Linked DNA regions of Homo sapiens: region 2 is linked to region 1. The links are contacts of gene promoters, found by promoter capture Hi-C in blood cells and fetal thymus (Javierre and others, 2016). All regions are on one chromosome and are shown on one strand. Each heading gives the region's core, a stretch centred on a gene start or on the middle of the fragment in contact. The rest is flanking DNA. Distances are from core to core; before and after follow the strand shown.

Region 1 (5,494 bases), core at 1,227-3,726:
GAAATGGAGGCAGGAGGATCATTTGAGCCCAGGAGTTTGAGGATACAGTCAGCTATGATCAAACCACTACACTCCAGTCTGGATGACAGAATGAGACCCTGTCTCTTAAGAAAAGAAAAAAATGTACTTGCCTCTGAGGTCTTAGTTGTGTTCCAGATGGTTAATAGTCATCTGTAATATGATAATCCTATTACAACAATTAGTATCAGATAAACAAAGTATAATTCTGAATTAAATCATTTTTATTTTGCCAATTTGTAAATTTAATGTATACAACCAAACCTGAATGATCTTGCTGATTCTTAAAAAGCCTGTAACATTTCAGGTAGTCATTATTGTTCACAATTCCCACTTAGGAGTAAGATTCTGCAGTTATCTTTTCCTTAGCTTCCTGTATTCTTATTGTGCATGTTAACTAAAAAATCATAAGATCTATAGATTTAGAAAAGGAGAGACTTTGTTTCTTATAAGGAGTTACAGCCTGCAAGGTGGCCATTCTGCAGGCTGGGAAGCATGCCTCCAGCCAAGACCACATACAGACACTTCAGAGGAGGAGTTGGAGTAGGAACTTTATGCTTAACTGGTTGGCTAAACATACATATTCAACAAGTTAGAGGAGCGGCTATGAATATTCATGAAAGTGGTCTTGACACATGCATATTAAACAAATATGCATGTTTAACAGACAATCCATGTTCACTTTGGGGTGGAGACTTAACATTTAAATGTATTTACAGTTTGGTCCTATACATCAAAATATCTTTTCAGGAAGTTACGTAAGCATGCAATCACTACAAATTGGCCAGAACAAGTCCATGGTCAGTGACCTTCTTATCAGGAGAAAGTAACTGAAATCAATAAAAGCTGTAGTTACGGCTGGTGGGAGAGGGTTGTTAGTGTCTGGTGGTCGATGAACTGCAAATTGTTTTAATACTGTGAGGCCAGCGCTTGTTTAGCTGCTAAAGAAAAACCTTGAAGCATAGTGAGAACATAGTTTATTTTTCAAGCGTAGGGATGCATGACTTTTAACCCTTGCTTGGCATGGGCTTAGGTCCTGTTTATACTTTGGTATCTTATTGCCATGGAGTCAATTCCGTCAGTCCTATCATCTCCGTTTTTTTTTTTGAAACAGAGTTTCACTCTTGTCGCCCAGGCTGGAGTGCAATGGCACGATCTCCGCTCACTGCAACCTCCGCCTGCCGGGTTCAAACCATTCTCCTGCCTCGGCCTCCTGAGTAGCTGGGATTACAGGTGCGTGCCACCACGCCCGGCTAATTTTTGTATTTTTAGTAGAGACAGCGTTTCACCATGTTTGCCATACCTCAGGTGATCCACTCCTGACCTCAGGTGACCCACCTGCTTCGGCGTCCCAAAGTGCTGGGATTACAGGCGTAAGCCACCGCGCCTGGCCTCTATTTTAACTTTATGGCCAGTCAGCTATCTCCTCTAAATCACAAAAGGGAGAGGGTATAACCAGGTCCGTCTGACCTCCCATCCCGTTATGACTGGGAACTCAGTTGTTAAGATTTTGCTGGTGTCCCCTTGGCCTCACGGGGGTCTGTTCAGTTGTTGGGGGGCTTAGGATTTTAAATTTACAGACTTCGAAGAAGGGAACAAGATACACGTGTGAGGGAATAAGAGGAAGTTACCCGAGTCTGAGTCAGTGCTTCCTTCTCCACCGTGTAACTCCAACTTAGAGTTACTGCCACTCGGCTTCTATCGGCCACGTCTCTCCTGGGAAGGCAGGCAAGGGACGAAATGGAGGGAGACAAGGTTTTCGCTAGGGAAGCCTCGGCCCAGGACGCAGCGCCACCCGTTTTCCAATCAGCGCCGGGCACTGCATTCCTCCTAGGTCTCTTTCTTTCAGTAGAGACCTTTTAATAATAAATACTACTTACATTGCTTTACAGTTCACACTTGCGGTCATTATTTCAGTGGAGCTTTTCAACAGCTCTGTGAGACAGGTATTATTTCTATTTCGGAGCAGAGAGAACAGCGCCCTTGAGCCACAGGGCTCATACATCCGGAGCCTATCACCACTCCGCATCTTAAGCTCCCGGGATGACCGCGGACTGGCGGCCCAGGACCACTGCTCCAGCTGTTTCCCCAGGTAATCCACCTGCCTTGGGTTACCTTTTAGCGCGGCCCAGTTAGCCGCAACCAGCCACCATTTACCCGCTTTCCCCAAACCAGGAAAACCACAGAAACGCATGTGCGCGGCCAGTCTCTTCCACGCCCGGGAACGCAGAGCTTACAGACCAAGGCCGCCCAAGTCCCCTCACCCCAAAGGCTACCCAAGAACCCCGAGTAGGCTGTTTGGCTGACTCAGGCGCCCAACGCCCACCCGAACTGAGTCGCTAGGGAAACTCCCAACTGCCAGCTCGCCCGACCGGTGTTCACAGGCCACTCTAGCCGGGCTCAGAGAGACCGCAGTCTCGTTGCTCCTGGCTTGACGTCATCGGCAGGCGCCGCAGCGCAGTGGCGGGCACGCGCAGCCGAGAAGATGTCTCCGACGCCGCCGCTCTTCAGTTTGCCCGAAGCGCGGACGCGGTTTACGGTGAGCTGTAGAGGGGAGGGTGCAGGCCTGACCCGGCGCTATGCTTTGTCCTCTTCTCCCTGAAATTACTCGAATTTTGCCCTGGGGTAAAGTGAGACAGAGGTGTGTCCGCCTCAGCGTCCGCTCCGGGCCCCGTCGGAGGTTGAGGGGTAGGGAAAGACGCACTACCCGCCTCTTCTTTGTGGGCTGGGCCGTCCGCCTCCGCCCACCCTCCAGCGGGTCCCCGGACTGCGTGCTGGGCGCCTCGGCTCCCCGCTTGGAGTGCCCACCTGCAGACTACTGCTGGTTGGGTCCATCCTCTCAGCTCGTTTAGTGGGGCAGGTGTCTCGAGAAGGGGAAGGGGAGCTGCTGAAGGGGGAGGGTGGGAGTGGTTTCAGTCCAAAGACCTGGCTCCCGCCCTAGCCTTCTGAGCTACCAAGTGCTTGTTCCCGCCGTCTCTTCACCACCCCTTAACCCACCGTGTCTAACTCCTAAGCGATCGATGAGATCCTAAGCGGGAAAAGGCAGATAGATCACCTTGGGAAGGGTAACCAGATGCTATTTTATTCTTGCTCAATGTGGAAGGGTGGTTTTGAGCATTTGGGAAACACTTGACAGATCACTTTCTCATTTAACTATTAGAGTAACACTGTGAAGTAGGCTAAGTTGGTTATTCCTGGTACATGAGGTAGAAGCTGACACCCCCCAAAAAGTTGTGACTTCAGTGGTTTTTCTGACTTTAGACACTCTGTTCTTTTTATGTTGCTCGTCACAGCAACGTAAGTATGAAGAACACTTTTAAGTTGCCTGACTCTATTCGTCTCTAGCATTTGCACCAACATTTCTCAGATATTCGGCTGTGTTTTGGTAGTTATAGGGATGCCAGGATGAAAATTGTGTGAAAGAAAAATTCATCCTTTGTAGTAAGTAGTTTTCTTGTTTGCAGGGTTATATATATATATATATACATATATATACGTATACGTATAATATATATATACACACACACACAGTGTGAGGTTTTTTTTAAATGGATTATATTTTGTGTATGTCATCATAATCATTTTCTTTGTGTGCGTTTTGCTGCAATCTCTGGTGCTTTGAAAGCCTGCTAAGAGTAACTGTTAGGACTATCCAAGATCATATTGGCGGCCGGGCGCAGTGGCTCACGCCTGTAAATGCAGTACTTCGGGAGGCCGAGGCGGGCGGATCACCTGAGGTCAAGAGTTCAAGGCCAGCCTGGCCAACATGGCAAAGCCCCGTCTCTACTAAAAATACGAAAATTAGCCAGGCGTGGTGGTGGGCGCTGTAATCCCATCTACTTGGGAGGCTGAGGCAGGAGAATCGCTTGAACCCGGACAGCGGAGGTTGCAGTGAGCCAAGATCATGCCAGTGCACAACACCTGGGCAACAGAGGGAGACTCCATCTCAAAAAAAAAAAAAAAAATCATACTAGCCCTGAAAAGGACCATGAAATTGGAGATCATCTAGTTCAGTGTTTCTCAAGCTTCTTGTGAAATGCAGATTCTTGTTCAGTAAGTGTGGAAGGGAGCCTGAGATTTTGCATTTCTACCAGCTTCCTAGGTGATGCCACTGTAGCTGCTGCTGGTAGTAAAAATCTACAAAAACCCTCTTATTTAACTGGTGACGAAAATGAAGCACAAAGAGATAAAGGAACAGGCCCCAAATTACTCAGCCTGTTAGTGGCAGAGCAAGGAATGGACACATTTAGGATAGATCTAATTCCTGTGAGGTAATAAGATGACTTTCTAAGTGTATGTGAGTGTTCATAGAATGAATGCCTTTTGCAATATTTTTGTCTTTAAGTTATGATTACTTTAAAACAATCTACAGATTGTCAGCATGGTTTTATTGAGTGCTACGTGTCAGGGACTGAACAAGATACCTCCAGGAGGCGAGACCTGACATGGGTGTGGGAGAATGGATAGAATTTGGATGAGCAGGTAGGAAGAGCAACATGAATGTGTGAATACAGTAGAATGAGTTTGATATAAAGTGATGAAAAATGGCTAGACTTTAGTGCAAAGTATGTGTTAGGGAGTATTGGGAATTAAGTTTGGGTAAATTGGGATAACATTATCAAGGACCTTGAGGGATCTATGAAGCTTCAAAACTAAAACGGGCAAATAAGGAGCCATATGGAGATTTTTTTTTTTTGTAAGCACAATACTCATGAATGTGATATTTAAAGAGACAGAAATATCACCTAGAATGAAAAAGTCCAGCAAGGAAGCTCTTGCCAGATTTAAAGTGATGAGGATCCGTATCATGAAGTAGCATTGGAATAAGGATTACTGAGAGAATGACTGATAGGTAATTTTTCCCAGGTATAAGCATTTTTTAGTTAGTAAGATACACTATCAATGAACGATATATTTTTCAGCAAATAATAAGCAAAATCTTTACAATTATTTGCCATTTTAATTTTTTTTTAGAAGTCTACCAGAGAGGCCTTGAACAACAAAAACATCAAGCCATTGTTAAGTACCTTCAGCCAGGTACCTGGCAGGTAAGGCATTGATATCTATGAAAAATACTTGCCTCAATCTTTATACATACCCTGAGCTGTTTGAAAAATGAGGATGTCTTTTGTTTTTAATAGTGAAAATGAAAAAAAATGTACCCTTGACCAAGCTTTCAGAGGTATTCTAGAAGAAGAAATTGTAAGTATGTTTTTCCATTGTTAAAATTTTACTGACAAATTAATAAACCATGTTATTTAAAAATTGCTTTTTTTCTTAGAATGGATATTTAAACATCTTTTTTTAGAGTAACCTTTCTGCTTTGTAAAAGTTGACTTGATGACTATACGATTTCTCTAAGGATTTTGATAGCACAGGTACATTTTAAGGGTTTGGTTTAATAAATGACAAGAGCCCTCTCCAAGTGAGATAAGAAAAGTTGACATGAGGTCTTAGGAAGAACTAGAGGTGAAGG
Region 2 (5,494 bases), core at 1,809-4,308, 530 kb before region 1:
TGAAATAATAGGTGACACAGAACACATAGTTTATCTCCTTTTTATCTTCTCATTTCTGAAACAAGAAGTTGCTCTGTAAATTAGAAAAACTAGAACAAACAAAAAGAAAATAGACAATACACTTATCTGGCTGGGGAGATACCATGATCATGAAGGTGGTTCTCAGAGTGAGGCTCATCCATTGCACTTTGGTTGTGCTGACCCCTGTGATTTCCCCAAATGCAGAATTTGTAGTAGTGAGGGACTGTGTTCGTGCTTTCCCCTGTCATTTTTTGTCCTAAGAGATCATAGTGTGAAGTTTATATTATTAAAAACAAATAAATAATAAGAAAATAGAGGCATGTAGCTTTACATGAGTTCATGTCTCTAGGTCTAGAAGAATTATATCTCAAGGTTCTGAAAGGTATTTCTGATACTTCCAGGGCCCTACCAGTAAGAGAGAAATCATGGAGACAGGTAGATATCTTAGAAGAATGATTAGATGATGTCTTAAAAGGTGAACGTTAATAAATGCAGACACTGAAAGTTGCCTTTGATTCCTGACAAAATTTTTAAAGTTTGTTAAAAAGATGTTTATCATTTTTAAGCAATTTGAAGATTATAAAGAAGTAATTTTTAACAGTTGTTTAGAAGTGCTTTATTGAACTACCTTGTCTCGAGTTTGAGTAAATGCTGCATATAGGTCATTGTCAGTGGTACTTTCTTGTGTTAGTGAGTGGTCAGACCTGATAAGCTTAGTTTTCTTCTAACAGTAAGGTTCAGTGATTGCTTTTCTACCTGTGTTTTTTTTTGGTTTTGTTTTTCCTCTTTCCATAATAAAGTGTTCTAATGGCATGATAGGTGTTGCTTTTTCTTTTGGTGATAAACAGAGCCAGGGATGTTAGCAGGTTTAAAGCTCTTTCTATATTTTCCCAGTTTTTTTAGGGGGATTGATAGAACATTGTTTTATTTTTGTTATATATATGAATAAAGATATCTTAAAATTATTTTAATTTGCTTTTTCAATTGAAGGCTACTATGCATCTCTCCTTGTGGTGAACTGCTTGCTCATAATCTTTACCAGTTTTACTATTGGGTTATTTGTCTTTTTCTTACAGGTTTTTAGGGACTCTTCAATATATTATAGATATTCTTTCTTTGTCTTTATGTTGCAAAGACTTTTCCATGTCTGTGCATAATGTTCCTTCTGTAACTTTTGGATTTTGTGTTTCAAGAATATTTTCTCCACTTGAAGATGATGTTAAAAATTCTACTTACAGGTTTTTGTTTTGTTTTGTCTTACAAGTCATTTAGCTCTATACTCTGGATTTTATGTATGTTGTGAGGTAATTTTTTTTTCCTCAGATGATATACCTCACTACTGCTAGTTATTAAATCTATTTTCACACTGGTTCAAAATGCCACCTTTTAGTGTTTGCAAATTCTTTTTACTCTTGGGCCTGTTTCTGGGCTCTTTCTTTTGAGGGATTTAATTGTTTATTTTATTTATTTATTTTATGAGACAGAGTCTTCCTCTGTCACCCAGGCCAGTGCAGTGGTGCCATCTTGGCTCACTGTAACCTCCACCTCCCGGGTTCAAGTGATTCTCCTGCCTCAGCAACTGAGACTACAGATGCCTGCCACCACGCCCGGCTAATTTTTGTATTTTTAGTAGAGACGGGTTTCACTATGTTGGGCAGGCTGGTCTTGAGCTCCTGACCTTGTGATCTGCCCGCCTCGGTCTCCCAAAGTGCTGAGATTACCAGCGTGAGCCACTGCACCCGGCCTAATTGTTTGTTTCTATGCCAATACCAAATAGCTTGATGCTGTTGATTATAACCATGATAACAGCAACTAATGTGTATTGATAATTGACTGTGTGACAGTCCCTGTATAAATACTTTAACATATTTAGCTAACTCATTTCTCACAGAACCTTCAACAGTTAAGTATTCTTGATATCTTTATTTTTACAGATAAAGAAATAGGCTTCAAGAGGTTAAATTTACTCAAATTACACGCTAGGACTGTAACCTAACTTTGTGACTCCAGAGCCTATACCCTTAACCATGAGGCTGTGATTCCTAGAAGGACAAATTTCCTGTTTTCCTTTTCAAAACTTTCTCAGCTATTCATATGCATTTACTTTTTCATGTGAACTTCATTGTGATTTTGATTTAATGTTACTTAGATTTATGTAGGAAGGATGGGCATCTTTGTAATGTACCTTCTAAAAATAAGTGATGTGTTTATTTTTTGAGATTGTCTTTTATATCCCAGTTTTATTATATAGACTCTGAACTTTTGTTTTACTTACTCATAGGTCTTATGTGTGTGTGTGTGTGTGTGTGTGTGTGTGTGTTTAAGTTCTGGGATACATGTGCTGAACGTGCAGGTTTGTTACATGGGTACACATGTGCCATGGTGTTTTGCTTCACCTATCAACCCGTCATCTAGTCTTAAGCCCCGCATGCATTAGGTATTTCTCCTAATGCTCTCCCTCCCCTTCCCCCCACCCCCTAACAGGCCCCAGTGTGTGATGTTCCCCTCCCTGTGTCCATGTGTTCTCATTGTTCATCTCCCACTTATAAGTGAGAACATACGGTGTTTGGTTTTCTGTTCCTGTGTTAGTTTGCTGAGGATGATGATTTCCAGCTTCATCCATGTCCTTGCAAAGGACATGAACTCATTTCTTTTTTATGGCTGCATAGTATTCCATGGTGTATAGGTGCCACATTTTCTTTATCCAGTCTATCATTGATGGGGATATGGGTTGGTTCCAAGTCTTTGCTGTTGTAAATAGTGCTGCAAGTTTATTTAGAAATAACTTCAAAGTTCAGAAAAGTTGCAAGAGTAGCACAAAGAACTGGATACCCTCCACCCAGATTTACCAGTTGTTAACATTTTGTCACATTTCCTTTATGTTTCCCTCCTTGGGTATGTGTGTATACGTGTCCCCACCACCACCATTTGAAAGTTAATTGCAAATGGCATGTCTCAGTACCCTTAAATATTTCAGTATGTATTTCCTAAAACAAGGACGTTTTCTTATACAACTGCAGTACAGTTACTGAATTCAACAAGTTCAACATCAGTATAATACAGTTACCTAATTTGCAGTTGCGGATTCAGTTATGTTCCCCAAAAGGGTCCTAACCCTCAGTACCTGTGAATGTGGCCTTATTTGGAAATAGCATCCTTTGGGAGGCCAAGGCAGGCGGATCACGAGATCAGTAGATTGAGACCATCCTGGCTAATGGGTGAAACCTTGTCTATACTAAAAATACAAAAATTAGCCAGGCATGGTGGCACGCGCCTGTAGTTCGAGCAACTTGGGAGGCTGAGGCAGGAGAATTGCTTGAACCCGGGAGGCAAGGTTGCAGTGAGCCGAGATTGCACCACTGCTCTCCAGCCTGGGCGACAGAGTGAGACTCCGTCTCAAAAAACAAAACAAAACAAAAACCAAAAACCCACATGTGAAGACAGACACCCAGAGAGAATGCCTTGTGACAACAGAGGCAGAAATTGGTGGGATGCACCTGTAAGCCAGGAGCACGAAGGATTGCCAGCTACCATCAGAAGCTAGGAGGAGGCAAGGAAGGATGGTATCCAGAGTGTCAGGGGGAGCATAGCCCTGCTGACACTTGAATTTTGGACATCCTGCCTCCAGAACTATGACATAATAAATTTGTTATTTTAAGCCATTTTTTTTCTACAGCAGCCCTAGGAGGGAACAATAAAGGAAATGTGGCAAGGAAAGTAATACAGTAGTTCATATATTTTTCCAATTGTCCTAATAATATTCTTTATAACAAAAATCCAAAATCCAATCTAGAAATACATGTTGCATTTAATTGTCATGTTTCTTTAGTCTCCTTTAATCTGAACAGTTCTTCAGGCTTTATCTTTCATGACATTGATATTTTTAAAAGTTAGACTACTGGTTTTGTATAGTGTACATCGATGAGTTTTTGTTTGATGTTTCCTCATGATTTGATTTAGATTATGAATTTGAGGCAGGAGTACCACTTAAAGGCTATTATGTTCTTCAGAGTACAAGACATCAGGAGGCACGCTGTGTTAGTCTATCCTACTATTGGCAGTATTAACTTTGATTACTTAGTTAAGTGATATCTGTCAGGTTTCATCACCACAAAATGAACATATTTCTCTTTTTAGTAAATTACAGATAAGGTAATAGTTTTTGCTTCCATTGATGATTCCTTGGCTGAATTAATTATTGCAGTAAGAGTTGTTCTGGGATACGTGTGCTGAATGTGTAGCTCTCTTACTCCAAGTTTAGTAGTTGGGATTCTGTAAGAGAGAACCTTCCTGTCCTTATTTATTTATCAGAGTGACTTATGGATTATCTTAGTCAACTAGTTGTAATCTGTTAGTGTCACCATTTTTTTTTCTTGATGCTCAGATTCTGTGTTTGGTCAGCAAGAGCCTCTTCAAACTAGTTCCTATGTACTTTTGATAGATCCCTATCATTTGTTGAGTACTACTTTATAACTATTTTTGGTATATTACAAAACTACTTATTTCTCAATATATTTTTGTAGCTGCTCTATAGAAATCTGTGTCTGATAGCTTTTCAGTTAATTCTCTTACTTTTTTTGTATAAGGGATCATGCAGGTCAGACACAGTGGCTCACACCTGTAATCCCAGTGCTTTGGGAGACTGAGGTGGGAAGATCACTTGAGCCTAGGAGTTTGAGACCAGCCTGAGCAATTTAGTGAGACCCCATCTCTGCAAAAAATTAAAAAATTAGTTGGGTGTAGTGGCAGATGCCTGTAGCCCTAGCTACTCAGGAGGCTGAGATGGGAGGATTGCTTCAGACCAGGAGTTCGAAGCTGTAGTGAGCGATGATCATGCCACTGCACTGTAGCCTGGGTGACAGAGTGAAACCTCATTTCAGGTAATAATTATAATGGCCAGGCGCGGTGGCTCACGCCTGTAATCCCAGCACTTTGGGAGGCCGAGGTGGGTGGATCACGAGGTCTGGAGTTTGAGACCATCCTGGCCAACATGGTGAAACCCTGTCTCTACTAAAAATACAAAAAATCATCCGGGCATGGTGGCATGCGCCTGTAGTCCCACCTACTTGGGAGGCTGAGGCAGGAGTATCGCTTGAACCCGGGAGGTGGAGGTTGCAGTGAGCCCAGATCGCACCACTGCACTCCAGCCTGGTGACACAGTGAGACTCTGTCTCAAAAAAAAAAAAAAACCAATAATAATAATAATTATAATGAACCTTAAGACTCTTTCTATTGTTTGCCATTAAGCTGTGATGCCAAAGTTGACTTGAACTTTATAGATATATAATATCATGGAAGGATTCCTCTATTTTTAGTTCATGAGAGTTATTAAAAAGTAGGGGTGGGTGTTGATTTAAGCTTTTTCCCCCCCCTTGGCTTTTATTGAGATAAATAACTTTTCTTCTTTTTCTTTCTTTTTTACATTTTTTTAAAAAATAAAGACAAGGTCTCTCTATGTTGCCCAGGCTGATCT

Evidence for each region. The method cuts DNA at HindIII sites, captures the fragments that hold promoters and counts their contacts. A CHiCAGO score of 5 or more calls a contact.
Region 2: a contact is called between a fragment that was not itself captured here and the fragment with the promoter of THOC1 in region 1, in 1 of 17 cell types (total CD4 T cells). The highest score is 6.4, in total CD4 T cells.

The regions. Positions count from the first base shown.
Region 1 is chr18:265,029-270,522 of GRCh38, reverse strand. THOC1 (THO complex subunit 1) reads left to right here and starts at 2,476. Exons shown (of 21, transcript NM_005131.3): 1 at 2,476-2,557; 2 at 4,993-5,066; 3 at 5,160-5,220. The coding sequence starts at 2,504. RefSeq lists a silencer at 1,568-1,747 and an enhancer at 2,138-2,607. The HindIII fragment of the contact is 5,170 bases long and covers 1-4,045 here.
Region 2 is chr18:792,760-798,253 of GRCh38, reverse strand. All of the region lies in intron 1 of YES1 (YES proto-oncogene 1, Src family tyrosine kinase), which reads left to right. It also overlaps the pseudogene RNU1-109P. Among named protein-coding and RNA genes, the nearest start is that of YES1, 17 kb to the left of the region's middle. The HindIII fragment of the contact is 4,646 bases long and covers 736-5,381 here.